Linked DNA regions of Homo sapiens: regions 1, 3 and 4 are each linked to region 2. The links are contacts of gene promoters, found by promoter capture Hi-C in blood cells and fetal thymus (Javierre and others, 2016). All regions are on one chromosome and are shown on one strand. The core of a region is centred on a gene start or on the middle of the fragment in contact, and the rest is flanking DNA. Distances in the headings are between cores, read along the strand shown.

The links. Contacts are between HindIII fragments. The CHiCAGO score rates a contact against its expected background, and 5 or more counts as called.
Region 1: the fragment with the promoter of NR2F6 here is called in contact with a fragment that was not itself captured in region 2 in 1 of 17 cell types (total CD8 T cells); the score reaches 5.3 in total CD8 T cells.
Region 3: a contact is called between the fragment with the promoter of USE1 here and a fragment that was not itself captured in region 2, in 1 of 17 cell types (neutrophils). The highest score is 6.7, in neutrophils.
Region 4: the fragment with the promoter of HAUS8 here is called in contact with a fragment that was not itself captured in region 2 in 14 of 17 cell types (endothelial precursors, M0 macrophages, M1 macrophages and 11 more); the score reaches 12.7 in endothelial precursors.

The regions. Positions count from the first base shown.
Region 1 is chr19:17,242,169-17,249,029 of GRCh38, forward strand. NR2F6 (nuclear receptor subfamily 2 group F member 6) reads right to left here and starts at 3,751. Exons shown (of 4, transcript NM_005234.4): 1 at 2,775-3,751. The coding sequence starts at 3,052. RefSeq lists silencers at 3,102-3,171, 3,182-3,341, 3,742-3,991, 4,392-4,471 and enhancers at 3,735-4,684, 5,634-6,583, 6,584-6,861. The HindIII fragment of the contact is 5,800 bases long and covers 715-6,514 here.
Region 2 is chr19:16,766,713-16,773,143 of GRCh38, forward strand. It overlaps NWD1 (NACHT and WD repeat domain containing 1), which reads left to right. Exons shown (of 19, transcript NM_001007525.5): 11 at 6,414-6,431. Among named protein-coding and RNA genes, the nearest start is that of NWD1, 50 kb to the left of the region's middle. The HindIII fragment of the contact is 3,685 bases long and covers 3,043-6,431 here.
Region 3 is chr19:17,211,697-17,217,609 of GRCh38, forward strand. USE1 (unconventional SNARE in the ER 1) reads left to right here and starts at 3,661. Exons shown (of 8, transcript NM_018467.4): 1 at 3,661-3,811; 2 at 4,106-4,155; 3 at 4,296-4,374; 4 at 4,473-4,625; 5 at 5,757-5,766. The coding sequence starts at 3,710. It overlaps MYO9B (myosin IXB), which reads left to right. Exons shown (of 40, transcript NM_004145.4): 39 at 1-78; 40 at 199-1,590. The coding sequence ends at 614. RefSeq lists enhancers at 3,301-3,881, 3,645-3,964 and a silencer at 3,985-4,054. The HindIII fragment of the contact is 55,559 bases long and covers 1-5,913 here.
Region 4 is chr19:17,074,095-17,080,124 of GRCh38, forward strand. It overlaps HAUS8 (HAUS augmin like complex subunit 8), which reads right to left and starts at 1,358. Exons shown (of 11, transcript NM_033417.2): 1 at 1,300-1,358. The coding sequence starts at 1,328. MYO9B (myosin IXB) reads left to right here and starts at 1,683. Exons shown (of 40, transcript NM_004145.4): 1 at 1,683-1,780. RefSeq lists enhancers at 1,101-1,300, 5,665-6,030 and silencers at 1,481-1,830, 1,825-2,119, 5,553-5,652. The HindIII fragment of the contact is 21,850 bases long and covers 1-3,819 here.

The DNA of each region.
Region 1 (6,861 bases), core at 2,501-5,000, 470 kb after region 2:
TTAGCCGGGCATGGTGGCGCATGCCTGTAATCCCAGCTATTTGGGAGGCTGAGGCAGGAGAACCGCTTGAACCCGGGAGGCAGAGGTTGCAGTGAGTTGAGATCACGCCATCGCACTCCAGCCTGGGCAACAAGAGTGAAACTCCGTCTCAAAAACAAAACAAAACAAAACAAAACAGATGAATCTCAGCTGCAGATACCCAGCCCTGCCCCTCAGGTGGCGACTGCCCCACTGAGCCTCGGTTTCCTCATCTGAAAATGGGAGGTCAGATATTGCCCTATCATATGGGATGGACTGGGTCAGAGGGGTTCACGGGGGACAGTGCCAAGACCCAGAGCCCAGCCGGAGAACCCAACTTAGGAAAGCTGAGGATCTGCGCCCACTCCCCCGTACCCCCCCTCCACCACTGCCTGGGTCCTGCAGCACCAGCCACTGAGCCCCTGGGAAGAGGCCCCACTAGGGCAGAGGGAGCTCAGGCAGAACCAGAACAAAGCCCAGCGGCTGGGTGGTGGGAGGGTCCAGGGCAGCCGGGTGGAAACGGCCTGGCCTGGGGCGGCCCTGCAGGCAGGCAGAGGCCCAGCTCAGGGGCCCCTGACCTCAGGGGAGGCCCTGAACCTTCAGTCTCAACTTCCCCAGCTGTGGAATTGGGACAGATCCATCCCTCCAAGGAGGGAAACAGTTAAGTTCTTCCTGTTATCCCACCTAAAGAGTGCAAGCTTTTTTGCCCAACCCCATGGCCCAACTCAGCTTCCTCCCTGGGCTTCTGGCCTCCAGTCCAATTTGATCAGAGCCCTCTCCTGCTCACACACCCTCTATGGCTCCCCATTACCCTCAGCCAGCATTTCAGGCCCACCTAGCTCTGACTTCTCCCATGGCTGCACAGTCCCCCTCTTACAGCACAGCTCCCCCAGTCTGCCACTAAGTGTTTTGTCTGGACCACATTCTGGCATGTCCCTGTGGCCTTTCTTCCACCTGCCAACTCCATGCTTCAAGGCTCATGTCCCCTAGCCTCCTCCAGGCAGCCCTCTCTGACCTCCAGGCAGAGCCTCTGCTCTCTCCCTGGGACCCCAGATCCCACAGACTTGGGGCATCTGTCTCACTGTGTCTCCTCCAGACTGGGGGCTTCTCAGGAGCTAGACTTGGAGCTGGGGTCTCTCTGGAGGGGCTGGCATCAAACTACCCAGGCTGGGCCCCAGCGAGACCCTGCTCAATCCATTTGAAGCTCAGAATGGAATGGTGATTTCACCAGGTCACACAACTGACACAGCACAAACCTGTCAGCTCCAAGCAAGGCCCCCCCCACCCAAAATTGCTGCTCCCTGACACCACCCTCAGGAAGCTCCTGGGACCCCAAAACTGCCTGAGCCCCCCTCCCTTACCCTCCCTAAAGATATGACCAGAGAGCAGGCGGTTTTCCAGCAGCAAGAATGAGGCCAAAGTCTAGTGGCCCACTTTGTGCTGGAGGAGGGAGCAAGGCAGCTCTGCCACACATGGCCACACCAGGCCAGCCCTGACCCGGGACCTGGGGCCAAACTCCACCCTCGGGTACCTGGGGCCCTATTTGGTGGCCTCAGCCAACAAGCCTTCCATCAGCCGTTCTCCCTGGGGCCACTCCGATCCGAACTCAGCGGTCCCCACCCTAGCCCCACAGTTCCCCCACAGTGCCCCCAACTCGGGCAGCGTCCCTCCATGTCCAACGCAAAGCAGGCACCAGGACCTCTCTCTGGGCCTTTGGGCCTCTGTTTTGGGCAGCTGGGAACTGAGACCGTCTAGACGGGCTCCACAGAGACCCTGCATGTTCCTGGGGTGCAGAGTAGGGGCTTATAAACGGACAGATCGGATGCTCGCCCGGGAACGGTGAGAAAAGAACTCCCGGGCTGGACAACCCCGATCGCTTTCCCTGGGGACCTTCCGCCAGAACAGCTAGCAAGGCCACGCCCTGCCAGAGAGGTCTCCGACCTGGGACAGCCCAAGGCTCCTGCTCGGAAACGTTTCACTCCCTGCCCGTCTCAGAGACACCCAAAGTTTGAGGGATTTTTCCAGGAGCCCCAGGTCTGCACCCACCCCTGGGGGAGAGGGACGTTTCAGTCAATTCCGGTGGCCCTGCCGGCCTTCCAGTGGCGATTTCCGGTGACCCAAGGCCCAGAGTGAGCCCAGAGGGGTTCCCTGAGATGGGCAAGCCCAGCTCCCACCCCCACCCCCACCGCTGGGCCCCTCATGCGAAGAAGGCCGCCCCGTGCCACCCCAGCCTCCCTCCGTCTGCCGCCTCCGTAGCCACAGCGACTTTGGAAGTGATATTTGACCCCAAGGGCGCGCCGTATCGATCCGCGCGGCCGCAGACAATGGCCCCTGGACGCTGCGAGCTCCACGGTCCAAGTTCCACGTTCGATTCCCTCGAGGGCATCCCGCGCGCCGGGATCCCCGAGAACGGGTGCCCTGGGGTTGGGTTACCACCCCTGACAGCACCCCTACCCCCACCCCAGCGCGGAGATGACCCCTCCCCAGAGAAAAAGCGGAGGGAAGGAGAAGCAAGTAACTGGGGCAAAAGCCTCCAGGGACCACCTGATGGGGGGGGAACCTGCAACGATGTAGCGCCGACTGTATACACAATCCCAGCCATGGAATGCGGGAGGAGGGTGCTGTGCCCCTATCTCAGAGGGGGCAGTGGAGGCCCAGGGAAGGTCAGCGCCAGGCCCAAGGTGACCGAGCAGGTCAGAGGCCTGCCCCAGGTCGGGGCGGGGTGCACGGCGGCGGCGCGCGGATGGGGGGCTCACCGGCAGGTGTAGCTGAGGTTGCGGCGGATGCTTCGCTTGAAAAAGCTCTTGCAGCCCTCGCAGGTGAAGACACCGTAATGCTTGCCGCTCGACTTGTCCCCGCACACCACGCAGTCCACCTGCAGCCCCGGCCGCTCCTCGTCGCCCGGCTCGGCGTCGCTGGCGGCACCGGGGGGCGAGGCCGAGTCGTCCTCGGCCGCGCGCGGGTAGCCGCCCGCCTTGTCCACGCCGTTCGTGTCGCCGCCGGGGCCGCCCCAGCCGCCGGTCACCATGGCCATAGCCCCAGGGCAGCGGGGCCGGGGCGCCCCCACCGCGCTCTTCCCTCCGGGCACCCCTCTCGGCCCGGGGGACCCTACGCGGCGCGCATTCGGCCCCGGCGCGCGGGGGGCACGGGCTGCACCCCCCAAAAAAGTTTTGCAGCAACTTCCTGCGGCCGGTCCTCGCGCCCGGGCGGAACTGGTCGGGCCGGTTCCAGGCCAACTTTCCCACGCGTGCGCGGGGCCGGGCCCGGGGCCGGGAGGGGCACGCTAGAGGCGCGGGCCGGGGGCCCAGAGGACTCGCGTCCCGCCGCCCTGGGGCCCCGGCGGGGGCGCGCGGGCCATGGCCCGGCCCGAGCCGCGCAGGGGGCGTCCTCTGGCCTGGCCGCCGCTCGCCCGGGGGCTGCGGCCAACTCAGCGGGCCGCCATCCGAGCGCGGGAGGCCGGGGGGAAAGTTTGGCCGCAAGTTGCGCGGCCGCCCGTGGCGGGGGGGGAGGGGCGGCGGGTGCGCGCCGGGGCTGATCGCCGCGCCCCCTGGGTCCCCCGGCGCCCGCGGCTGCCGCTCCGGGCCTGCAGGGCCGCTGGGCCGGCGCCTCTGGAGCTGCCGCCCCCGCTGCGGCCGCTCCTGCCTGGCCTGGGCCTGCGCCTGGGCCCAAGCCTCGCTCTCGCCGCCGCCACCGCCACCGACCCCGCGCGCCGGCCTCGCGCTGCGGCCGGTTTGACACACAGCGTTCCATTCGCGGGGCGGGCGGGGGGCGGGGGCGGGGGCAGGGGCGCGCGCCGCGGGCTGGGGGCGGGCGCTCGTTGCCCCGGCGACGGCCGCCCTTATAAGGGCATGGGTGGCCGCGCGCGGCGCCGGGCGAACGGGCCGGCGGGAGGGACGGGGGCCGAGCGCTGGGCCGCGGGGCCTGACCCTCCCCCGCCTCCCTCTGCCCCTCCCCCCGCACCCCCGCCCTCGCCCTCGCCCAGCTCGGGCCTTAACCCCTGCCGGGCCGCGGCGGGAGCCTCAGCCGCGCCTGCCCTCTGCCCTTCCTTGAGCCTCGCCAAGATGTCTCTCCAAGGCCCTCCCCTCCACCTCTGGCCTTGGACGTTGGGTCGCTCGATCACCCTCGAGGCGCCCCTCGGAACCTCTCCCCACCCCACAGTTCCTGGCAAAGCAATGATGGGGGGCCAGTGGCACCCGGGGGGGGGGTACGCCCCTGCGCAAGACACACGCGCGCGCGAGACAGACAGACACACACACACACACACACACACACACACACACACACACCCTAGATTGTGTTTGCTTCCTCTTCCAGAAAGTCGCCGCGTCTGACCCCCACCCCACCCTTTCTCTGCTCGGGTTAACACCTGGTGCCCGGAATCTCCAGGGGGAAGGGATGTTGTGGTCTGAGACCGGCTGGCCGGGGCCGCGAGGTCAGGGGGCCCCTCTGCAGAATTTCTGGCCTCCGGGGGCAGGGCGCCCACCCGCCCCGCGCGGCTGGAGGCGACAGGCATGCCCTGTCTGGGGGCCTGCCCCTTTTTCCCTTTTAATTTCCTTTTCTTTCTGTGCTTTGCAGAAAGGGCTTGGCCTGGCGGCCGGCTGGACTGCAGATGTCTCTTCCAGGCGCCCTGGAGCCTCGCAGCTGCCGCCACCTCCAACTCACCCCATCCCCCAGTACCGGGGCTGGGGCCCGCCCGACCAGCATTTATTAAGCACCCTTTGTATGCGAGGCCCGGGCTGGCGAGCCTCTGGCTCTGGGCAGGTTAACCTTTAACCGGCTGGACAAGCCCTTCCAGGAGTGACCTTTCACCTCGGAGTCTTGCAGCCCCAGCCACCCAGACTGTGGTCCCACCCCGCCCTGAGCCCAGAGCTGGACACCAGAGCATGCAGCTGGGCCTCTGAGAGCTCTGGCCAGGACAGTGCCTTCTGCGCACCCCCTCCTCTGCCTCCCAGAGCCCTGATGAGACTTGAAGAATTGCCCTCCCTGGAGTAGGGGGAAAGATTCTTAGAGATCTTACAACACTTAAAAAGAAACTGAGGTTCTGGGAGAGCCAGGCACACCCAGCCCTGGGCCTCTCAACCTGCTCCAGGGACGTTCTGGCTGCCTGGGAGGTGGAGGAGGAGGCGTTAGTAAACACGAAAAGCAGGAAGGACTAGGATTAGACATGAGCAAGGACTTCCCGAGGTCTAGAGTCGGGTTCTGCCCACAGCCTGATGTAATCCCTGCTGGGAGAGAGGAAGGCGTGGGTGGGCAGAGACGACCCTTTGGTTCTGAGGCTGCATGGGAATGTGACTGGTAATTTGGGATGAGGGCAGGGATCCTAGGCCCCTTGCCTGGACCTGCTAGGATCTTTGGTGGGGAGCATTGGGGTGGAGGTCTCAGAAGGGATTGAAAAGAGATTTAGATGAGAGACAGGCGCTGTGGCTCACGCCTGTAATCCCAACACTTTGGGAGGCCAAGTCAGGAGGATCTCTTGAGACCAGGAGTTCAAGACCAGCCGGGGCAATAAAGTGAGACCCGTCTTGAGCCCAGGTGTTCAAGGCTGCAGTGGGTTATAATCACGTCACGTCACTCCACTCCAGCGTGAGCAAGACCCTGTCTCAAAAAAAAAAAAAAAAAGAAGAGGGAGAGAAGACTCAAGGAATCTTGAGGGGATTGTGAAGGGGAGGGAGCAAAGAACTAGGTTTGGGGGAGACAAGTCTTGCGAGGCAGCTGAGAGCTGGGTGGGAGATGGGGGAAGAAAGACCATCGCAGATCCCAGAAACTCCAGTAGTTCCAGTCCCAAAGGCTGCCCCACCCCCTTCCAGTAGCCTGGCCACCCCTGTGCCCCCTGGGGCCCGCCTGGGGGTGGATCAAGGCTCTACCCCGCCTCCCTGACCCCTGCCCGCGGCCCTGCAGTAACATTTGACCTTGCGGCGGCCGCAAACCAGGGACAAAGGGGCCTAGGCCCATCTGCTGAGGGGGCACCCGTGGGAATGGCCAGATCCTGCTGGGGCAGCCTGGGAACCTGTCTCCGTCCTCCCACATGTGACCTTGGCTCCCTTTGCCCCTCCACAGGCAACCTGGTGGGACCAGGAACTCAGGTCTTAGACTCTGGGGCTCGGCAGGGTACAGGGAAGAAATTCAGCTTCTCTGCCCCACCCCAACACGAGCAAGGTGGTCTGCCTCCATTTCCCTGCTTTCTTCAAAGTTGGCCCAAGTCCAGGGACAGCGTGTGGGTCGGAAGGTGACTAGCCCCAGCCCTCGCTGGAGGGGACTGTGCTCGCCACCATACTTCTTGTTCTGTTTCTGGGGTCAGGTTGACTGGATTCAAGTCCAGGCCGCTGACTGGCGCTGACCTCAGGCTGACGTGGTCCTGCCCTGGGAGAGGCGGTGAACACACCTGCACAGGTGAGGCCTGGAGCACCTGCCCCCAAGGCTGGGAATGAAAGTCTTTCTAATCCCTGTCTCGGGTTTCAGCTGCCACCCTGAAGGGGGACAGCTGGCCACTAATCCAAGCTTGGCTGGGTCGTTCCAAGCTCCCCTTTCCCAGACTCAGCCAGTCCTGGTGTGGAGGGGCAGGGAGATGTGACTTATGCAAATGACATGCTAATTCATTGCCTGCTATTAACCTGACACGTCCCACAGCTCCTGGGCCCCCAGGAGAAAGCTGGAACTGGCCACCATTGGCATTCATTCTGAGTTTCTCTTGAAGTACAACGCCCCCTGAGTCCCAGACTATTACCTTTGCTATGCCTGTCCCCCACCCAGAAACCCTTTACCTTATTTTATTTATTTATTTTTGAGACAGACTCTCCTATTTTGCCTAGGCTGGTCTTAAACCCCTGGGCTCAAGCAGTCCTC
Region 2 (6,431 bases), core at 3,635-6,134:
GTAGCTGAGACTACTGACATGTATCATCATGCCTGGCTAATTTTTGTATATTTTGTAGAGACGGGATTTTGCCATGTTTCACAGGCAGGTCTTGAACTCCTGGACTCAAGCAATCCTCCTGCCTCAGACTCCCAAAGTGCTGGGATGACAGGCATGAACCACTGTGCCTGACCCCCATCTTAACCATTTTTATGTGTGCAGTTCAGTGATTAAATATATTAATAATGTGCAGCTATCACCACCATTCATCTCCAGAACTTGTTAATCTTCCTAAAGTGAAACTCTGTTTTCATTAAACATTCACTCCCTGTACTAGTCTGTTTTCACACTGCTATAAAGAAACACCCAAGACTGGGTAATTTACAAAGGAAAGAGGTTTAATTGACTCATAGTTCTGCATGGCTGGGAAGGCCTCAGGAAACTTACAATCATGGCAGAAGGGAAAGAGGTGCGTCTTTTTTTTTTTTTTTTTTTTTTTTTTTGGTGAGACAGAGTCTCGCTCTGTCGCCCAGGCTGGAGTGCAGTGGTGCGATCTCGGCTCACTGCAAGCTCCGCCTCCTGGGTTCATGCATGGCAGCAGGCGAGAGAGAGGGAGCAACTGCCTTATAAAACCATCGGACGGCCAGGTGTGGTGGCTCACGCCTATAATCCCAGCACTTTGGGAGGCCGAGGCAGGCAGATCACTTGAGGTCAGGAGTTTGAGACCAGCCTGGCCAACATGGTGAAACCCCAGCTCTACTAAAAATACAAAAATTTGTCAGGCGTGGTGGCACATGCCTGTAGTTCCAGCTACTTGAGAGGCTGAGGTGGGAAAATTGCTTGAACACGGGCGGCAGAGGTTGCAGTGACCAGAAATCCCACCATGCACTCCAGCCTGGGTGACAGAGTGAGACTGTGTCTCCAATAAAACCCAAAAAACCATCAGATCTCGTGAAAACTCACTGTCATGAGAACAGCATGGGGGAACCACCCCCATGATCCAATCACCTCCCACCTGGTCCCTCCCTCAACATGTGGGGATTATGGGGATTACAATTCAAGATGAGATTTGGGTAGGGACACAGAGCCAACCCATATCTCTCCCCATTCTCCCTTCACCCCAGTCCCTGGCAACCACCATGCTATTTTCTGTCTCTATAAATTTGACTGCTTTAGGTATTTCATATAAGTGGTATTTTACAGTATTTGTCCTTTATTCTCTGACTTCTCTTACTGAGCAGAATGTCCTCAAGTTTCATCCACATTGTAGCATATGTCAGAATTTCCTTCCTTTTTTTTTTTTTTTTTTTTTTTTTGCACGACAGAGTCTCGCTCTGTCACCCAGGCTGGAGTGCAGTGGCACGATCTCAGCTCACCGCAACCTCCACCTCCTGGGTTGCTCAAGCAATTGTCCTGCCTCAGCCTCCAGAGTAGCTGGGATTACAGGTGTGTGCCACCACATGCAGCTAATTTTTGTATTTTTTAGTAGAGATGGGGTTTTGCTATGTTAGCCAGGCTGGTCTCGAACTCCTGACCTCATGTGATCTGCCCACCTTGGCCTCCCAAAGTGCTGGGATTACAGGCTTGAGCTACCATGCCTGGCTAAGAATTTCCTTCCTTTTCAAGGCTAAGAATTTCCTTCCTTTTAAAGGCTTAATAATATTGCATTGTATGAATATGCCACATTTTGTTTATCCGTTCATCTGTCTGTGGACATTTGTGTGTTTCTACCTTTTGGATATTGTGAAAAGGAATCACTAGATCACATGGAAATTTTGTGTTTAACTTTTTGAGGAACGACCACTTCATTTTCCACAAAAGCTACACCATTTTATAATCAAACTATGGGAGACAATAAATAATATCTTTTTCTCTACCCTTTTATGTTCAGTGATAGGGGCCTGTGAATTAAGACAGCTTAACAGGAGAAAGGGCTCACACATTTTAATTTTACATGCACAGAAGTTTCACAGAAAAGTGAAAACTCAAAGGAGTGTTTAGACCTGGGGCCTTAAATACCATGTTAACAAAGAGCAATAAATTGTGAGCTGAATTCACAAAGGAAGGGGGAGTATTCAAGATGCTTAAGTCTCTGTATCCAAAGTGCTTCCCCATGGATGTGAATAGGATGTTAAAAAGGATGACCAGTGGCCTGTGATTCCTATGCAGAGCTTCTAATCCTGGCCCTGCAAACCATCCTTGAACTATCTGCTTCTCTTTATTCTCCTGGCCATCAGCCCAGGGCCAGTGCTGCTGTCTCTCCTCCAGACAGCATCCTCGGAGGTCTGCCTACTTTGGATTCATTCTTACCCTTTGGTTTATTTTCCATACAGCACTCAGAAGAATCTTGAAAGCCCAAAACGGCCGGGGTGGCTCAAGCCTGTTATCTCGGCACTTTGGGAGGCTGAGGCAGGTGGATCACTTGATGCCAGGTGTTCAAGAGACAGGGAACAAAAGCTGGGAAAATTGCCTTATAAAACCATCAGATGGCCAGGTGTGGTGGCTCATGCCTATAATCCCAGCACTTCGGGAGGCTGAGGCAGGCAGATCACTTGAGGTCAGGAGTTTGAGACCAGCCTGGCCAACAGGGTGAAACCCCATCTCTACTAAAAATGCAAAAATTAGCCAGGCACGGTAGCACGCACCTGTAATCCCAGTTACTCGGGAGGCTGAGGCAGGAGAATTGCTTGAACCCAGCAGGCAGAGGTTGCAGTGAGCCGGGATCACACCACTGCACTCCAGCCTTGGCGACAGAGCAAAATTCCATTAAAAAAAAAAAAGAGCCCAAATCTCACTAAGTATCTCTATTGAATCTTCTAGATGGTTCTCCCATTGTCCTTGGGATAATGACCTTTCCAGTACTGTAGCCTACATGGCTGTGTATGACTCACTCTCCTGGGAGATGCTTGTCTCCATCCTTACTGCCCCAGACAGTGATGGAAACATCCAAGCTTGCGTGCCGGGGGCCCTGGGCTGGGACTCGCCTCCCCCAGCCCTTCTGTGGCAACTTTGGAGCTCAGCTAAATGCGATTCCTCAGAGAAGCCTTGTCTGGCCACCACTGAAGCTTAACTTCTCTATGTCTCCCCGATCCTTGCCTCTGAATTTTCTATCACTGCACCCTGTTTTCCATCTGTCTTGGCTCTTTTTCTTTTTTCTTTTTTTAGAGACAAAGTCTTGCCCTGTTGTCCAGGCTGGAGTGCAATGGCATGATCATAGCGCACAGCACCTTCAAACTCCTGGGCTCCAGTGGTCCTCTCACCTCAGCCTCCCAAGTAGCTGGGACCACAGGTGCACACCACCACCCCTGGCTTGTCTTTGCCTTTAATTATGATTTCTCTTGGTTTTCTTTTGCATCATCTGTCTGCCACATCAGACTCTGAGCTCCATAAGGCCAATGGCATCATCTGTTTTCTCCCTGCCAAATTTTTACCTTTAACACATTGATATGGTTTGGCTGTGTCCCCACCCAGCTATCATCTTGAATTGTATTTCCCATAATCCCCACACATTGAGGGAGGGACCAGGTGGAGATAATCGAATCATGGAGGTGTTTTCCTCCATGCTGTTCTCCTGATACTGAGTAAGCTCTCAAGAGATCTGATGGGGCTTTTTAAAATAAGGGGCTTCCCCCTTTGCTCAGCTCTCATTCTTCTCTCTCCTCCCGCCTTGTGAAGAAGGGCGTGTTTGCTTCCCCTTCCACCGTGATTGTAAGTTTCCTGAGGCCTCCCCAGCCCTGCAGAACTGTAGGTCAATTAAACCTCTTTCCTTTATAAATTACCCAGTTTCAGGTATGTCTTTATTAGCAGCATGAGAACAGACAAATACACACAGAGACCACAAATTTTGAGCCCCACCGTGTCCATTGAAATCTTGGCGCTGCCACTTCTTGGCAGTGTGACCTTGCAAACCCTTTACCATCCCTCCCCCTGCCCCACAGCCCTCAGTTTTCCCATCTGCAGAATAGGGATGCTGAGTGACCATCCCACCTAGGGCTGCTGGGAAGAGTACGCGCATCAGTTCACACAGAACCTCCACCCGTGTTGCCATCGAGGGTCCTGTTACTGTCATATGATAGCATTGTTGACATGAATAGCCTAGGATGAGCTATTTCTGCCCTGAAACCCTATTTTTGTCATCTGCAAAATGTGCAATTGAACTAAAATGTGTCCAGAACTCCACCCAATGTGAAGATGCTGGTGCCTGCAATCATTTATGCCTTTCTTATGCATTCACACAACCCCTACTGATTATCTGCCATAGCCCCAGCTCCCACAGGGACCTAAATATAGTTAATGTTTGTCTCAGCCTTTAAGAGAGGGAGATGGGGCCGAGTGCGGGGGTTCACGCTTCTAATCCCAGCACTTTGGGAGGCCCAGACAGAAGGATTGCTAGAGGGCAGGAGTTCAAGACCATCCTGGGCAACATAGCGAGACCCTATCTCTGTAAAAAAAAATTAATTAGTTAAAAATAGATAGATGGCTGGGCACAGTGGCTCACGCCTGTAACCCCAATACTTTGAGAAGCCGAGGCAGGCAGATTGCTTGAGGCCAGGAGTTTGAGACCAGCCTTGGTGACAGTGAAACCCCATCTCTACTAAAAATACAAAAATTAGCCGGGTGTGGTGGTGCATGCCTGTAATCCCAGCTTCTTGGGAGGCTGAGGCACGAAAATTGCTTGAACCCGGGAGGCAGATGTTGCGGTGAGCCGAGATCACGCCACCGCACTCCAACTTGCACGACAGAGCAAGACTCTGTCTCAAAATACACAAATAAATAAAGAGAAGGAGATGGAACAGCATACCAAACAACTGGAATTTAAGGCAACTGGAAAGAAAAATAACGCGAGAGGCGCTCGCCAGGAGTTGTAAACCTTGATGGAGCAACTTCCCAGGAAAACAGCCTTGGGCATGACTTCCCATTTTAAGGAAGATTTAAAAGCCCAGATCTCTCAGCAAGTTCCCTGCAAAGCCCCTTGATTGACAACCTGTGGCTCCCCCAGCACAAGGAGGAGGTGTAGGAACAAATGTTATCACCAGAGGGCGCTGCTGGACAACCATGTGCTCTCCGTACATCCAAGCACGCTGGCGAATGGGGACCATTCAACATAACATCCTAAATGATCCAACGCGATCACGAGTCCTTTTTTTTTTTTTTTTTTGAGAAGGAGCCTCGCTCTGTCACCCAACTTCTGCCTCCTGGGTTCCAGCGATTCTCCTGTCTCAGCCTCCCGAGTAGCTGGGATTACAGGCCTGCGCGCCACCATGCTCGGCTAATTTTTCTTAATAGCCCATTTTTTAATAGAACGGTTTTAGGTTCACAGCAAAATTGAGTGAAAGGTACAAAGATTTCCAATATATCCCTCCTCTGATCCTACTTTTATTGAAAAGGTTGAGTCTGAGCACAGTGGCTCACGCCTATAATTCCAGAGCTTTGAGGGGTCGAGGAAGGAGGATATCTTGAGCCCAGAAGTTTGAGACCAGCCTGGGCAACATAACGAGACCCCGTCTCTACAAAAAATAAAAAACTAACGAGGCGTGGTGACGTGCATCTGCAGTCCCAGCTAATATAGAGGCTGTGGCCGGAAGATCGCTTGAGCCCAGGAGTTTGAGGCTGCAGTGAGCTGCGATCGTGCCACTGCACTCCAGCCTGGGTGACAGAGTAAGACCCTGTCTCTAAAAAAATAAATAGCCAGGCGCGGTGGCTCATGCCTGTAATCCCAGCACTTTAGGAGGCCGAGGCAGGTGGATCACTTGAGGTCAGCCCAGCCAACATGGTGAAACCCCGTTTCCACTAGACACACAAAAATTAGTTGGGCCTGGTGGCGGGCACCTGTAGTCCCAGCTATTAGGGAGGCTGAGGCAGGAGAATCGCTTGAACCTGGGAGGTGCAGGTTGCAGTGAGCCAAGATCGCACCATTGCACTCCAACCTAGGTGACAGGCTAAAATTCCATCTCAAAAATAAATAAATAAAATAAAATAAAACAAACAAATAAATTAGCTGAGTGTGGTGGCGCATGCCTGTAGTCCCTAGTATTTGGGAGGCTGAGATGGGAGGATTGCTTGAGCCCAGAAGTTTGAGGCTGCAGTTAGCTTTGATCATGCCACTGCACTCCAGCCGGGACAACAGAGTGTGATAAAAGAGGAAGGAAGAAAGGAAGGGAGAGAGGGAGAGAAGAAGGGAGGGAGGAAGGAAAGGGAAGCATTCTAGGCAACCTGGGCAAAGGCTGGAGACTGGAAACAGCTGGGTGCCTCTGAAGCAAGGGTAAGTGTGTCTGGAGAGCAGAGAAGGAGACAGGAGCGGACAGCAGAGGCCAGTAGCTGAGGTATTGTGTCTTCTTTTGTTCTGGAGCCCCTGCAGGGAGCAGAGACTCAATTGGCAGGGAGGGTAGAGGGGGCTCAATCCAGGCAACTTAGTCTACATCCCTTTGTTGCAGAGAGGAGCCTCCTGTACA
Region 3 (5,913 bases), core at 2,411-4,910, 440 kb after region 2:
AGGAGAACCTGGACTCGGAGACGTCGGCCAGCACCGAGAGCCTGCTGGAGGAGCGGGCCGGGCGGGGGGCCTCGGAAGGTCAGTATTAAGGTAGCGTCTGCTTTTCTCCTTCCCGTCCATCCCAGCAGGCCCCAGGGCGAGGGTCCTCCGGCTGCCGGCCCTGAAGCTGCAGTAACCCTGCCATCTGTCTCTCAAAAGGGCCCCCTGCGCCTGCTCTCCCTTGCCCCGGCGCGCCCACCCCGAGCCCCCTCCCCACCGTGGCCGCCCCTCCACGACGAAGGCCGTCGTCCTTCGTAACGGTCAGAGTGAAGACCCCCCGGCGGACCCCCATCATGCCCACGGCCAACATCAAGCTCCCACCAGGCCTGCCCTCCCACCTGCCTCGCTGGGCACCGGGTGCCCGGGAGGCGGCTGCCCCAGTGCGGCGCCGGGAGCCACCTGCCCGCCGCCCGGACCAGATACATTCCGTGTACATCACGCCCGGGGCAGACCTGCCAGTGCAGGGCGCCCTGGAGCCCCTAGAAGAGGATGGCCAGCCACCTGGGGCCAAGCGGAGGTACTCGGATCCCCCAACGTACTGCCTGCCCCCCGCCTCGGGCCAGACCAATGGCTGAGAGCCACAGCTGACAAAGTCTGCATGTCCGAGGACGGCCCCTGCACTGGAGCTGGGCGCCAGAGCTGCAGAGCTAGTGTTCGGCCCTCAGAGAAGGATCCAGAATCAAAAGCTCAAGAGTGACGTGAGGTGGGCACCGGCCCCAAGTGCAGAGTCAAGGCAGGGAGAGGCCGGCTGGAGCCAGGCCCCCTCGCACGCAGCCCCCAAATCATGGACGCACCTGTGGGGAGCACCACATCTCCACCTGCGGCCTCACATCTCCCCACTCCCCTTTTTGTACGTTTAACTGTTTCTTTGTACGTGGTTTACGTAACTTTAAACTGTAACAGCCTTAATGGAAGACCAAATGGTTTTTTATATGTGTATGTACAAAGTTTTCTATTAACGCTGCCCGTCTCCCTTATAACCTGGACGTGAGCTGTCAGAGCAGAAGCCACTAGGCCACTGCGCGTCTGAGGCTCAGACCCTGCTGTGGTTGGCTTGGGGTGGCCAATGGGCTGGGACCCTCCATGAGAGTTTTGGACACTTGGGTCACCTGACCCGTGCCTCTCTGACACATGTCTCCGGGGGGCAGCCACCTGGCCAATGTGCATTTTTGCACATGCTGGAACCTTCCATGGGGGTCTGGGCTATTGGCTGGAGCCAGGACATGAGTCAGGGGCACCATGGACCTCACGTGCCAGGGAGACTTGAATGTGGCTGTCACTCTTCCGGACGCCAAGGGCTGCAGGAGGCTGCTTTTGGCACTACCCACCCCGTGTGACAGAATAGGAGCCAGCGACTCAGGACTGCTCACGGGTCAGGAGGGCAACGCCTGAAGTCAGACCTCCCTATAGGTCAACAGGGACAACCTGGGGATCTCTGGAGCAGGGCCCTCCTCTCTCAGGCTTGGCCCACTCCCCCAGACACCTGGACACGTGGCCACAAATCTGGGACAAGGGGCCCCCGCACAGCATGAAATAAAAAGTGCCTGAGAAGTGTGTGCATGGGACGCCTGCTCATATGGGATCGGGCTTGGAAGAACAGGGCCGGTGGGTGGGGGTCTGCCCTGTGGCCTCAGCCAAGAAGGGTGCAGAATATGGGTGGAACACTGTCCTCAAAGTTCTGTCTTGATCCTCCACCAAACAGGGAGCTCCCAGCAGAGCCTCACTTGGCCAGGAGCGCCTGCTGTCCTGGCAGCCCTCTCTGGCCTCCCTGATTCAGTGCCCAGCCTCTGGAGCCTAAATGTCAGCTGCAGCAGCCACCCATCCAGCAGAGGTGGCCAGTTCCTGGTGGGCCCAGCAGGACAGGAACAGATGGGCTCCCAGGCTGCCATCGGATGGGAGTCGTGGGAACTGGCTGGCTGGTATTGGTTGGGGCACCGTGAAGAACCCAAGTTCAGACAGCACATGCCAGAGGTTGAGGGGCTTCTCCAAGGCCACACAGTTGGGAGGGGCATGGCTGGGATTTAGACTCTGCCCTGCCAGCCTCTAGAGGCCCCTTTGATGGGCCCTGGGTTTGGTCTCCATTGTTTGTTGTGGGTTTTTTTCTTGAAACACGGTCTCGCTCTGTCACCCAGGCTGGAGTGCAGTGGCGCGATCTCGGCCCACTGCAGCCTCCACCTCTCGGGTTCAAGCGATTCTCCTGCCTCAGCCTCCCGAGTAGCTGGGATTACAGGCACGCACAACCAAGCCCAGCTAATTTTTGTGTTTTTTGATAGAGACAGGGTTTCACCATGTTGGCCAGGCTGCTCTCCAAACTCCTGACCTCCAGTGATCCATCCACCTCACCCTCCCAAAGTGCTGGGATTACAGGCGTGAGCCACCGCACCTGGCCCTCCATGGTATTTTCTTTTTTTTTTTTTTTTTTTGAGACGGAGTCTTGCTTTGTTGCCCAAGCTGGAGTGCAGTGGCACAATCTCGGCTCACTGCAACATCCACCTCCTGGGTTCAAGCGATTCTCCTGCCTCAGTCTCCCAAGTAGCTGGGATTACAGGCACCCACCATCACGCCCGGCTAATTTTTGTATTTTTAGTAGAGACGGGGTTTCACCATGTTGGCCAGGCTGGTCTCAAACTCCTGACCTCAGGTGATCCATCTGCCTCAGCCTCCCTAAGTGCTGGGATTACAGGTGTGAGCCACCGCACCTACCCGTCTATGATATTTTTCAAGGACATCAGGCCCACTGGTGTAACCAAGGTGCAGATGACCTAAGGTGTGGGAAAACATGAAGGCTGCATGCCAGGCCCTGGTTCCTGTGAAGCCCCCACCCTCATCCTGTCACTCCAGAAGAGAGGCACTGCAAGGCATAGGGGTACTCAGCTTCCAGGTACTGAGGTGGGCTGGGAAGGGGTTCTCCATGGGGGTCTGGGCGTTAGGGGGGACCCAGCCCCACCTTGCTCACTCTCAGGCAGAGCTGTCTCATGTGCCCCTTGAGGCAGGTACTGTCACACTGTCCATTTCCCGGGGGAAGAAGCGGATCCAGAAAAGTTAAACTCTCCCAGGGCCGAGGATGGAATCAGAGCTGGAGCTGTGACCTGGAAACCCATAACCACAATACAGATGAGCCCTGCTGAGGTGGGGGAAGCCTTGGATTCCTGAATCCCAGGCTACAGAAATCGGGAAGGGTGTGTGGACGTGAAATAGCTCCGACTGGGAAGAATCCAGGTAGGAGTGGGGTGCGGGGAGGTACTTTGAGCAGGCAAAACAGAACAAAAGGGCACACTGCACGCGGGTCTGACACCAGAAGACCCCGGTCGTCCTATCATTCCCGAAGGGTTAACATGCTCTCGAGGAAAAGCAAGTGATTCGCCTAAGTAAGAATGGGGTGGCGCCTCTCCTATTTTTTTAAAATAGAGATAGAGTAGCGCTATCTTGCCCGGGCTGGCCTCAAGCAATCCTTTCCCACCTCTGCCTCCTAAAATGCTGGCATTACAGCCCTGAGCCACCGCGCCCGGCCCAGCGCCCCGTCTCAAAACAAGATATTACTTCCGCTCCAAACAAAGATGGGCCAGCTAACGAGCGCGGGGGAAACATCCGCCCGGAAGGCCACTTGAAGGCACTTCCGCCCTCTCTTAACATGGAGCCGGCGGAAGGGGTGGTGTAGGGCCGGGCGATAATGGCGGCGTCGAGGCTGGAGCTAAACCTGGTGCGGCTGCTATCCCGCTGCGAGGCGATGGCAGCGGAGAAACGGGACCCGGACGAGTGGCGCCTGGAGAAGGTGAGGGGATCTCGCACTGCCGCGTAGAGCCCGACTCCCGGGGGGTGATTCCTAGGGTTGGAAGCCACCTGGCCCGACTCCCCGGCCCCAGTAGCCTCTCGGGCAGCGCCCTTTCCGGTCAGTCCCGCCACGTCCACCTGTAGCTTCCGCCCCCGTCCCTGGGACTCCGCCCCTCCCCCACTGGCCCCGCCTCCTTTACGCTTGACCCCTCCCATTTGTCGGCCCCGCCCCCCCGACTCCCATGATCAGGACATGGGAAAGACCCCCGGGTGACAATCCACTTTTCCTCCCCAGTACGTGGGAGCCCTAGAGGACATGTTGCAGGCCCTGAAGGTCCACGCGAGGTGAGTGCAGGCAGCCTCAGGGCTTTCACATCAGCACGTGGCTGTGCTACTGGACATCCCAGTACCGCTATCCCAGCTGGGACCCTTCCCTGAGCTGGGGACCATGGACAGGTTTTGTTTTTCTTCTTCCTGCCTTCCAGCAAACCGGCCTCTGAGGTGATCAATGAATATTCCTGGAAGGTGGATTTTCTGAAGGGGATGCTGCAAGCCGAGAAGCTGGTGAGAAGGGGTGCCCCTGCCCCCTCAGCCCCCATCACCGCTCACTTTGGTCCCCAGGACCTGCCCCTCCAGTGACTTATCTTCCCACATTTCTGCAGACCTCCTCCTCAGAGAAAGCACTGGCCAACCAGTTCCTGGCCCCTGGCCGTGTGCCAACCACAGCCAGAGAGCGAGTGCCCGCCACAAAGACGGTGCATCTGCAGTCACGGGCGCGGTACACCAGCGAGATGCGGAGTGAGCTACTAGGCACGGTAGGGCTCCTTCCCTGGTCCCTGGGAATCCCTTGGACAGGAATAGGGGTTCTATGCTTGTAGGCAGCCAGAACCACAATACTGTCAGATACAGGAACCCTAAGGGGGTCCAGCAATCTCTTCCCTGGGTCATCACACAAGGCTGCCCAACAGAGGGGCATTGTGGCTAAGGCTTTGCTAGATGAATAGGAATTTGGTACAAGGCAAAAATGGAATGTGTCTGGTTAAGCCCCAGAGTTGGCCCAAGAGCAGGGTTTGAGTCCTGGCTTGCAACTTACAAGACACATAAGTTTCTTCAGCCGTAAAAGAGGATGACAAGTTCCTTTCTGAGCACTTTATGTGGATCAGCTCAATCTTTTAAAATATGAGTTGTTGTGGCCAGGTGCGGCAGCTCACGCCTGTAATCCCAGCACTTTGGGAGGCCGAGGCGGGCGGATCATTTGAGGTCAGGAGTTAAGACCAGCCTGACCAACATGGAGAAACCCCGTCTTTAGTAAAAATACAAAATTAGCTGGGCATGGTGGCTCACGCCTGTAATCCCAGCTACTCGGGAGGCTGAGGCAGGAGAATCGCTTGAACCCAGGAGGCAGAGGTTGCGGTGAGCTGAGATCAAGCCATTGCACTCCAGCCTGGGCAATAAGAGTGAAACTCCGTCTCAAAAAAAAAAAATATGAGTTGTCGTTACCAGTTTAAGGTTGAGGAAACAGGCTCAGAGGTCATGGGATTTCCCCATGTCCTGACTGAAGGTGAGGAGGTTGAGGTCAGAAGGGACAGGTTTGGGAACAAGACAAGGGGGGTGACTTCATGGCATTTACTTTTTTTTTTTTTTTTGCGATGGAGATTCGCTCTTGTTGCCCAGGCTAGAGTGTGGTGGCGCGATCTCGGCTCACTGCAACCTCCGCCTCCCAGGTTCAAGCAATACTCCTGCCTCAGCCTCCCAAGTCACTAGGATCACAGGCACCCCCACCACACCTGGCTAACTTTTTGTATTTTTAGTAGAGATGGAATTTCATTATGTTGGCCAGGCTGGTCTCGAACTTCTGACCTCAGGTGATCTGCCCACCTTGGCCTCCCAAAGTGCTGGGAGTGAGCCACTGCACCCAGCCTCATGCCACTTACTTCTTTCCACAGGACTCTGCAGGTGAGTCACCATGAACACAACAGGACTTGAGGGCCAGCTGACTAGGACAAGACATGTATCCTTGCTGCCCCGGGGCCTCCATGCCGAGACTCCATGCCCTGACTCCAACAGGAGCATCACCAAACTACACCTGGAGGAAGAGCCAGG
Region 4 (6,030 bases), core at 108-2,607, 300 kb after region 2:
CATCAGCTGTGGGGGTGCAGGAGAGGGAGAATCTGGGATGACTAGGGGTTTCAGGGTTTCAGCCTGAGCTGGTGAGAAAAGAAGGGATCCAAGAACAGACACCAGCAACACAGGAGGGGCAAGTGGATGGGCAAGTGGAGGGGCAGGGCCAAGGCCAGGGCACTGTAACTCCTGCTCCCATCACCAAAGGCGGCTCCACTGGTCCCTGCGGCCACCTCCTCTGAAGCAGGCTCCCAGGACCCCAAAGTGAGACCCAGACAATGTTGGGGACACTTCCAGGCCACCGTGGGGAGAGGCAACTTAGCAAATGTTCGCCAGGTGCCAGCAGCTGCGCTCGCCCGTAGGCTCCTCCTAACCCGACAGCTTCCTAACTGTTCACACCTGCTTTTTCGTCGCTGCAAAACAAAGACGCACAGGTTTTACATAGGTCACCCCCGGGGCAGTCTCACAGCCAGAAAGAGACAAGAGCACAGACTCCCTCTGGGGACTGTGCTAGGGCTGTGGCCTCAAACCGAATGGGCTCCTGGGTGAACCTGCTGCGACCTGAGGGGGGTCCCTACAACCTGTGCGAGCCTCAGCTACTGCACCTGTACCTGGGAGGTGCTACTGTCAATCTATCGGTTACGGCAAGGGGCGGTGGAGTGATTCCTCTTGCTGGCCAATTTCACTTCAGTTTGCACCTGGCACAATCAACACTGGCAGAATTAACAAAACTAGACAAATATAGCCTCATGATCATTCATGCCTAGCTCTCGGTCAGTATTCAACTTCTTTCTTGTTCATGGTGTGTTACCCTAGGCAAGTCACTTCCCCTCCCTGGGTCTCCATCATCTCCTCAGTAAACTGGGAGCACAGAATAAAGCGCGTGGGAGGATTAAAGGGGACACTTTGGTCGCCCAACACTTGTTCACTGCATAACGATAATTCCAAGAGCGACATCACAGTAAAGACCCAGGCGCCGATCTAAGCGCGTTTCAGCCTCACGCGACGCCTACGAGGTTGAGCTGCGTCATCGGCCCCATTTCGTAGCGGAGGAAAGCGAGGCACTGGGCGGTCAGGCCGCTTGCCGGAGGTCGCCCAGCGTCCCAGCCGAGGACGCGGAACTCAGGGCCGGTCGGGTGTCAGCGCTCCGGAGCATGCGCAGAGGCAGCACGCCATCGGGGTCTTCAGGGGCCCGCGCAGTTCCTGGCGGGGTCGAACCCGAACTCACCCCGAGGGTCCTAACTCCCCACCTCCGCTGCCCATCCTCTCCAGCCCTATGGCGTCTACAAATCCAGACCTGCGGAAGCCCCAACTCACCCAGCGCCTCGCCCCGAGGAATCCGCCATTTTCCCGCCTTCCACCTCAAGGCCCGACCCGCCGGCTTTTCAAAGCCGGACCCGCCCCCTTGCTTGCGGGTCGGACCATTTGTGGAGACGCAGGAGGGGTGGCTGCGAGGCGTGAGGCAGCGCCGGCTAAGTGTGGAGAGCGCGGCCCCAGACGCGCGCTTCGCCTGTCCTCCCCTCGCACTTGGTCTCGCCCACCATCGGCGGTAGTGGGTAGGGGCGGTGGGTGGGACCTGATCTGTCGGACAGTAGGGGCGGGGCTTTTCGCGATGCCCCGCCCCTAGGAGCGCTGGCGTCACGCCCCCGTCCCCGCCTCTCCGGAACCCGGAAGCGGGAGCGCGCGGGGGAGCGGCGGGCGCGGCGGGGCGGAGCGGCTCGAGCAGCGGCGGGCTGGCAGGCGGTCGTCCGGCCGGGGACCCGGCCCGGGACCGGCGGCGCGCGGCGGCCGAGGCCAGGTGAGTACCAGGCAGCCTCGGGTTGGCGACTCGAGCTCGAAGCCTGCCTTTGGGGGCTGCGCAGAAGAGGGACGGAGCTGAGGGCTGATGGGGGACGCGACGGCAGGGGTCGAGGGGGCGGGAACGAGCCTGGGGGTCTTGGAGAGATTGCTGGGGATGAGGTGGAAGCGAGACGGTGAAGGAGAAAGTGGATGGGGATGGAGCTGGTGAGGGAGTTCGAGGGCGTGGGGGGGGTGAGTCTTGTGGCTTTGAGCAGCTTCTCTGAAGAGGACGTGGCTTAAGTGGTAATTGGGGGGTCGCAGGAAACGGCGTTGTGGGGAGGCACGGAGGCGGGAACGAGAGGCCCAGGCTGGGGGAGTGGGCAAGGCCAGGGGCGGGACAGCCGGGGTGCGGTTGAGGGGAAGGGGTGCGAGACCGATCTGGGGACGTCTGCCCGCGCGATTGAAGGAAGGGTGTCTGAGAAGAGGGCGGCGCCTGGCCCCCAGTGGGCGCTCAGTAAATGCGGGGGGTTCTGAACTAACTGATGCGGCAGCCGGCTATTGGGAAGCGGGGAAATGGGAGCTGGAAGGGAAGTAAACGGAGTAGAAGTCACGGTAAGAACTGAGGGTAGGCTTAGGGAGGGAGGGCCCGGAGAGGAGGGAAGAGAAGGAAGGGGTTAGAGTGGCCCCGTGCAGATAGATGTTGAGATGCAGCCCCTGGAGATTCCGTCCCCCCACCCTCCCCTCTTGATTCGTGTCCCTCCTGACTTCACACTTAACAGCTGGGTGACCTGGGACGAGTCCCAACACCCTCTGTGCCAGTGTCCTCGTCTTGGAAACTTCACCACCCTCCCCTTAAGACAGGACTAGCAGGATTCTGGGATTCCCTGGATCCAAGGAAGGGACCTCAGGGCCGGTTGTGGGGCCGGAACTGTGTTTCAGGAGGGAGTGTGCATGCACCCTCATGTACAGGACTGTCGCCACCTCCGCAGAGCTGCATCCTTGGACTTAAATGGGTAAAACGACATACAGGAAATCTGTCCCCCGGTTGCTCTGAGCTCAGCCCTGGAGAGGCACGACAGCCACGAGCCCTCCTTTCTTTCCTGGGCACCCTGGAGGCCAGGGGTCTTTAAGGGATGGCTTCTCTGCCTCTTTGTCTGAGGTGGGAGCCCGTGGGGACACTTTCCAGCCAGAGAGTCCCAACTCGGTTTGTTTTTTGATGTTGGAGTCTTCAGAATCTTAAGGTGTCCAGGAGCAGCCGGAGGTGACCTGGGCTACAGGAAAGTTATTCACATCTGACAGGCCTGGCTCTTGTGGCCCTGGCAGGGACTTTGTGCAGGGTGCTTTTGATTGGCATTCATTTCTCCCCTTTCCCAACTGTAGGGATCTTTATCTGGGATCTGCCAGAAGGGCTGGGGAACCCCAGCTTATGTTTAGTTTATAGCTCATTCAGGAGATGAACCCGGATAGCTGGAATATAAAGAGGGCCACAGAAAGATAAGCACCCCCTTCACTTCCAGAATATCCTGGCCTTTAGGAAAGGTGGCTTTGGCCTGGCTTGCCCCAGGACATGCAGTGACAGCCCACAGTCATGCCTCCTGCAAACATTGAACTGTAGGCTTGCACTGGCCTACAGAACAGGACCGGGATCTTCTGATCCCGCAGCCCTGCAATCGCCTCTTCCCTGCCGCTAGAGAATGGCCAAGCAGGGTCTTGTGGGGGGAGCACTGTGTTGGAGATCCTGGCTTTGGTCAAGTCTCTGTGCCTGTTTCTGACCTCTCACCTGCAAAATGAATGAATTGACCTCCATCAGCGTTTTTCAACCTTGAAACCCAACTCTTCTCATCACCGTCTTGTCTCCAGTCCATGTCCCCCAGCTCCCGGCCTTGAACTCCTCACAGCACCCCCACTCTCCATTCCTGGCTGCGATGATCCTACTTTTATTCCGTTTTCCATTCGACAGTTTGTATCCAAAAATGATTTTTTTTCAACCGCTTCTTCATCGTCCAAATAGAAAATTGCGGTGTTGAAGGTGCTTTTGCACATTGCACCTATTCCCAAAGCTTTGGAAACTGCAAATTTCTGGAAATCCCGAGGCAGTACCGTCCCTCGGGTCCAGTCTGGTGACTCAGTGGAGCAGGTAGAGACGTGGGAATCTCCCCTTTCTGTTTGGCTGTAGGATTCGTTATTCTCTCCCCACATGGACTTGTTAACTTGCTGCTTCCCATTCCTCATCTCTTCCAAATGGTGTGTCTTGGGTGGGCCTAGATTTCAGTTAGGCAAGGGTTGATTGTGCCAGACACTTGGTAGATTCCTGGGGACAGAGGTGAATCCTTATGACCCAGAGGACGGACACGCTAATGCCCGCCCCCGACAACTTTGCACTTCCTCTTCAGAAAGAATGGAGTTCAAGCTGGGCCGCGGTGGCTCAGGCCTGTAATCCCTTTGGGAGGCCAAGGTGGGTGGATCACAAGGTCAGGAGTTCAAGACCAGCCTGACCAATATGGAGAAACCCTGTCTCCACTAAAAATACAAAAATTAGCCCGGCGTGGTGATGTGCGCCTGTAGTCCCAGCTACTCTGGAGGCTGAGACAGGAGAATTGCTTGAACCCAGGAGGCGGAGTTTGCAGCCAGCCAAGATTGCGCCATTGCACTCCAGTCTGGGTGACAGAGCAAGATGCCCTCAAAAATAATAATAATTAAAAAAAAGAATGGAATTCAGATCAGGTCATCAGTACGGTGACAGAGGGGCCACAAGATATTATGGGGGGAGAATTAGGGACAACCAATGCAAGCTTTAGGACAAGGGGGATTCCAGCAAGTTTCCTCGGAAGTAGTGGCTGGCCCCAGGTCAAACCTGGAAAGATACCACGTGTTAAACCACTCCGGGTGGAAGGGATTGCACAAGCAGATACCTTTGAAGCCCGGCCTGTACAGGGCATCCCAGCTCTCTCATTCTGCCAACCGGCAGTGCGAGGGTCCTTGTTCTTATCTTCCTGATACAGAAACAGGCCCAGGCAGGTGATGACTTCAGAGATGGTTCCTTGAGCTTTCTAGAAACATGCAGGATCCTTAGTAACCTTTAACTGGGGAAACCCAAATCTCCAGGGCCGTTTCTCACCCGCATCACCATTGACAGTTGGGGCTGTGCACTGTAGAATGTGGAATAGTGTCCCTGGCTGTCACCCATGAGATGCCAGTAGTATTCCATCCCCTCCAAGGGGTAACAACTGAAAATGACTCCAGCCATGGCCACGTGTCCCCTGGGGGCAGAATCACCTCCCCCGCCAGGTGAAATGTGATGCTCATTAGTAAAACCTGGTTCCCCTCTAGGGCCCATCATTGCCTTGGTGGGTCCTTGGTGTTTGTGGAGCCCCTGAGGAACTGCCACTAAGAGTGGGAACAGGGGCAGAGACCAGGAACTGAATCCTGCCATCCAGTCAGTTCTTAATCAGGAGGGAGCGGGTCTTGATAAAAAGGAGGAACCGTTAGGAACGGACTGTGGGAGGGTAGGCAACGTGCCCGAGGGTGGACAGCGGGTGCCCTTGTCTTTTCTTTGTCTTGTGACTGACCTGGATTTCTGGAGGAACTGTCCTCGTCTTAGAATGATCTGTTGCTTTTCTTCTGAGATTAGAGGTATTAGATTCTCTCCCAAGAGCTACTTTGGAGGTTGCCCCGGATAAACGTCGCTTTTGTAAGCTGCATTATCTCTTCCATGGGCCCTTTCGCCCGCCCGTTCCCAAGCACATACTGCTGAATTTTTGTTCTTGGTCCATCTTGCTGTCCCCTTCCCTGCTTGGCCCCCTCCTTGACCGTGACTTTGCTGCTTTACCTTGATTGGAGGAGACGCTCTGGGGCCACGGGACTGACGGTCCCTTCTGGGTGCTGCCCCCACACCCCACCCACCAGCCCTTTGTGTGCCCGGCATCCCCAGCCCAGCTGTGCCAGGCTGCCCCTGCTCGGCCGGCCATTCAGACGGCCCCAGGCGGCCTCTCGGCAAAGCAAGACAAGCCCTTCTCTTCTGCCCTCGTGGTCCCTGGAGTGGCAGAACAAAGGGCTCTGTCTCCACACCAGCCCACCGCCGCAGCCCAGAGCCCCGTTCCCTTTCAATTTCTATCGTGGCTGGGAAAGAGCCTCAGAGATTAGGCATGTTTCAGAAATGCAGCTGACGAGTTTGGGTTCTACTCATTTCCTCAGCGAGACTTTCTGAGCCCGAGCCCGATGATAAATAAAGTAGTGATTCAAGGGTTCAGCCCATGGGTTCGTCGGAGT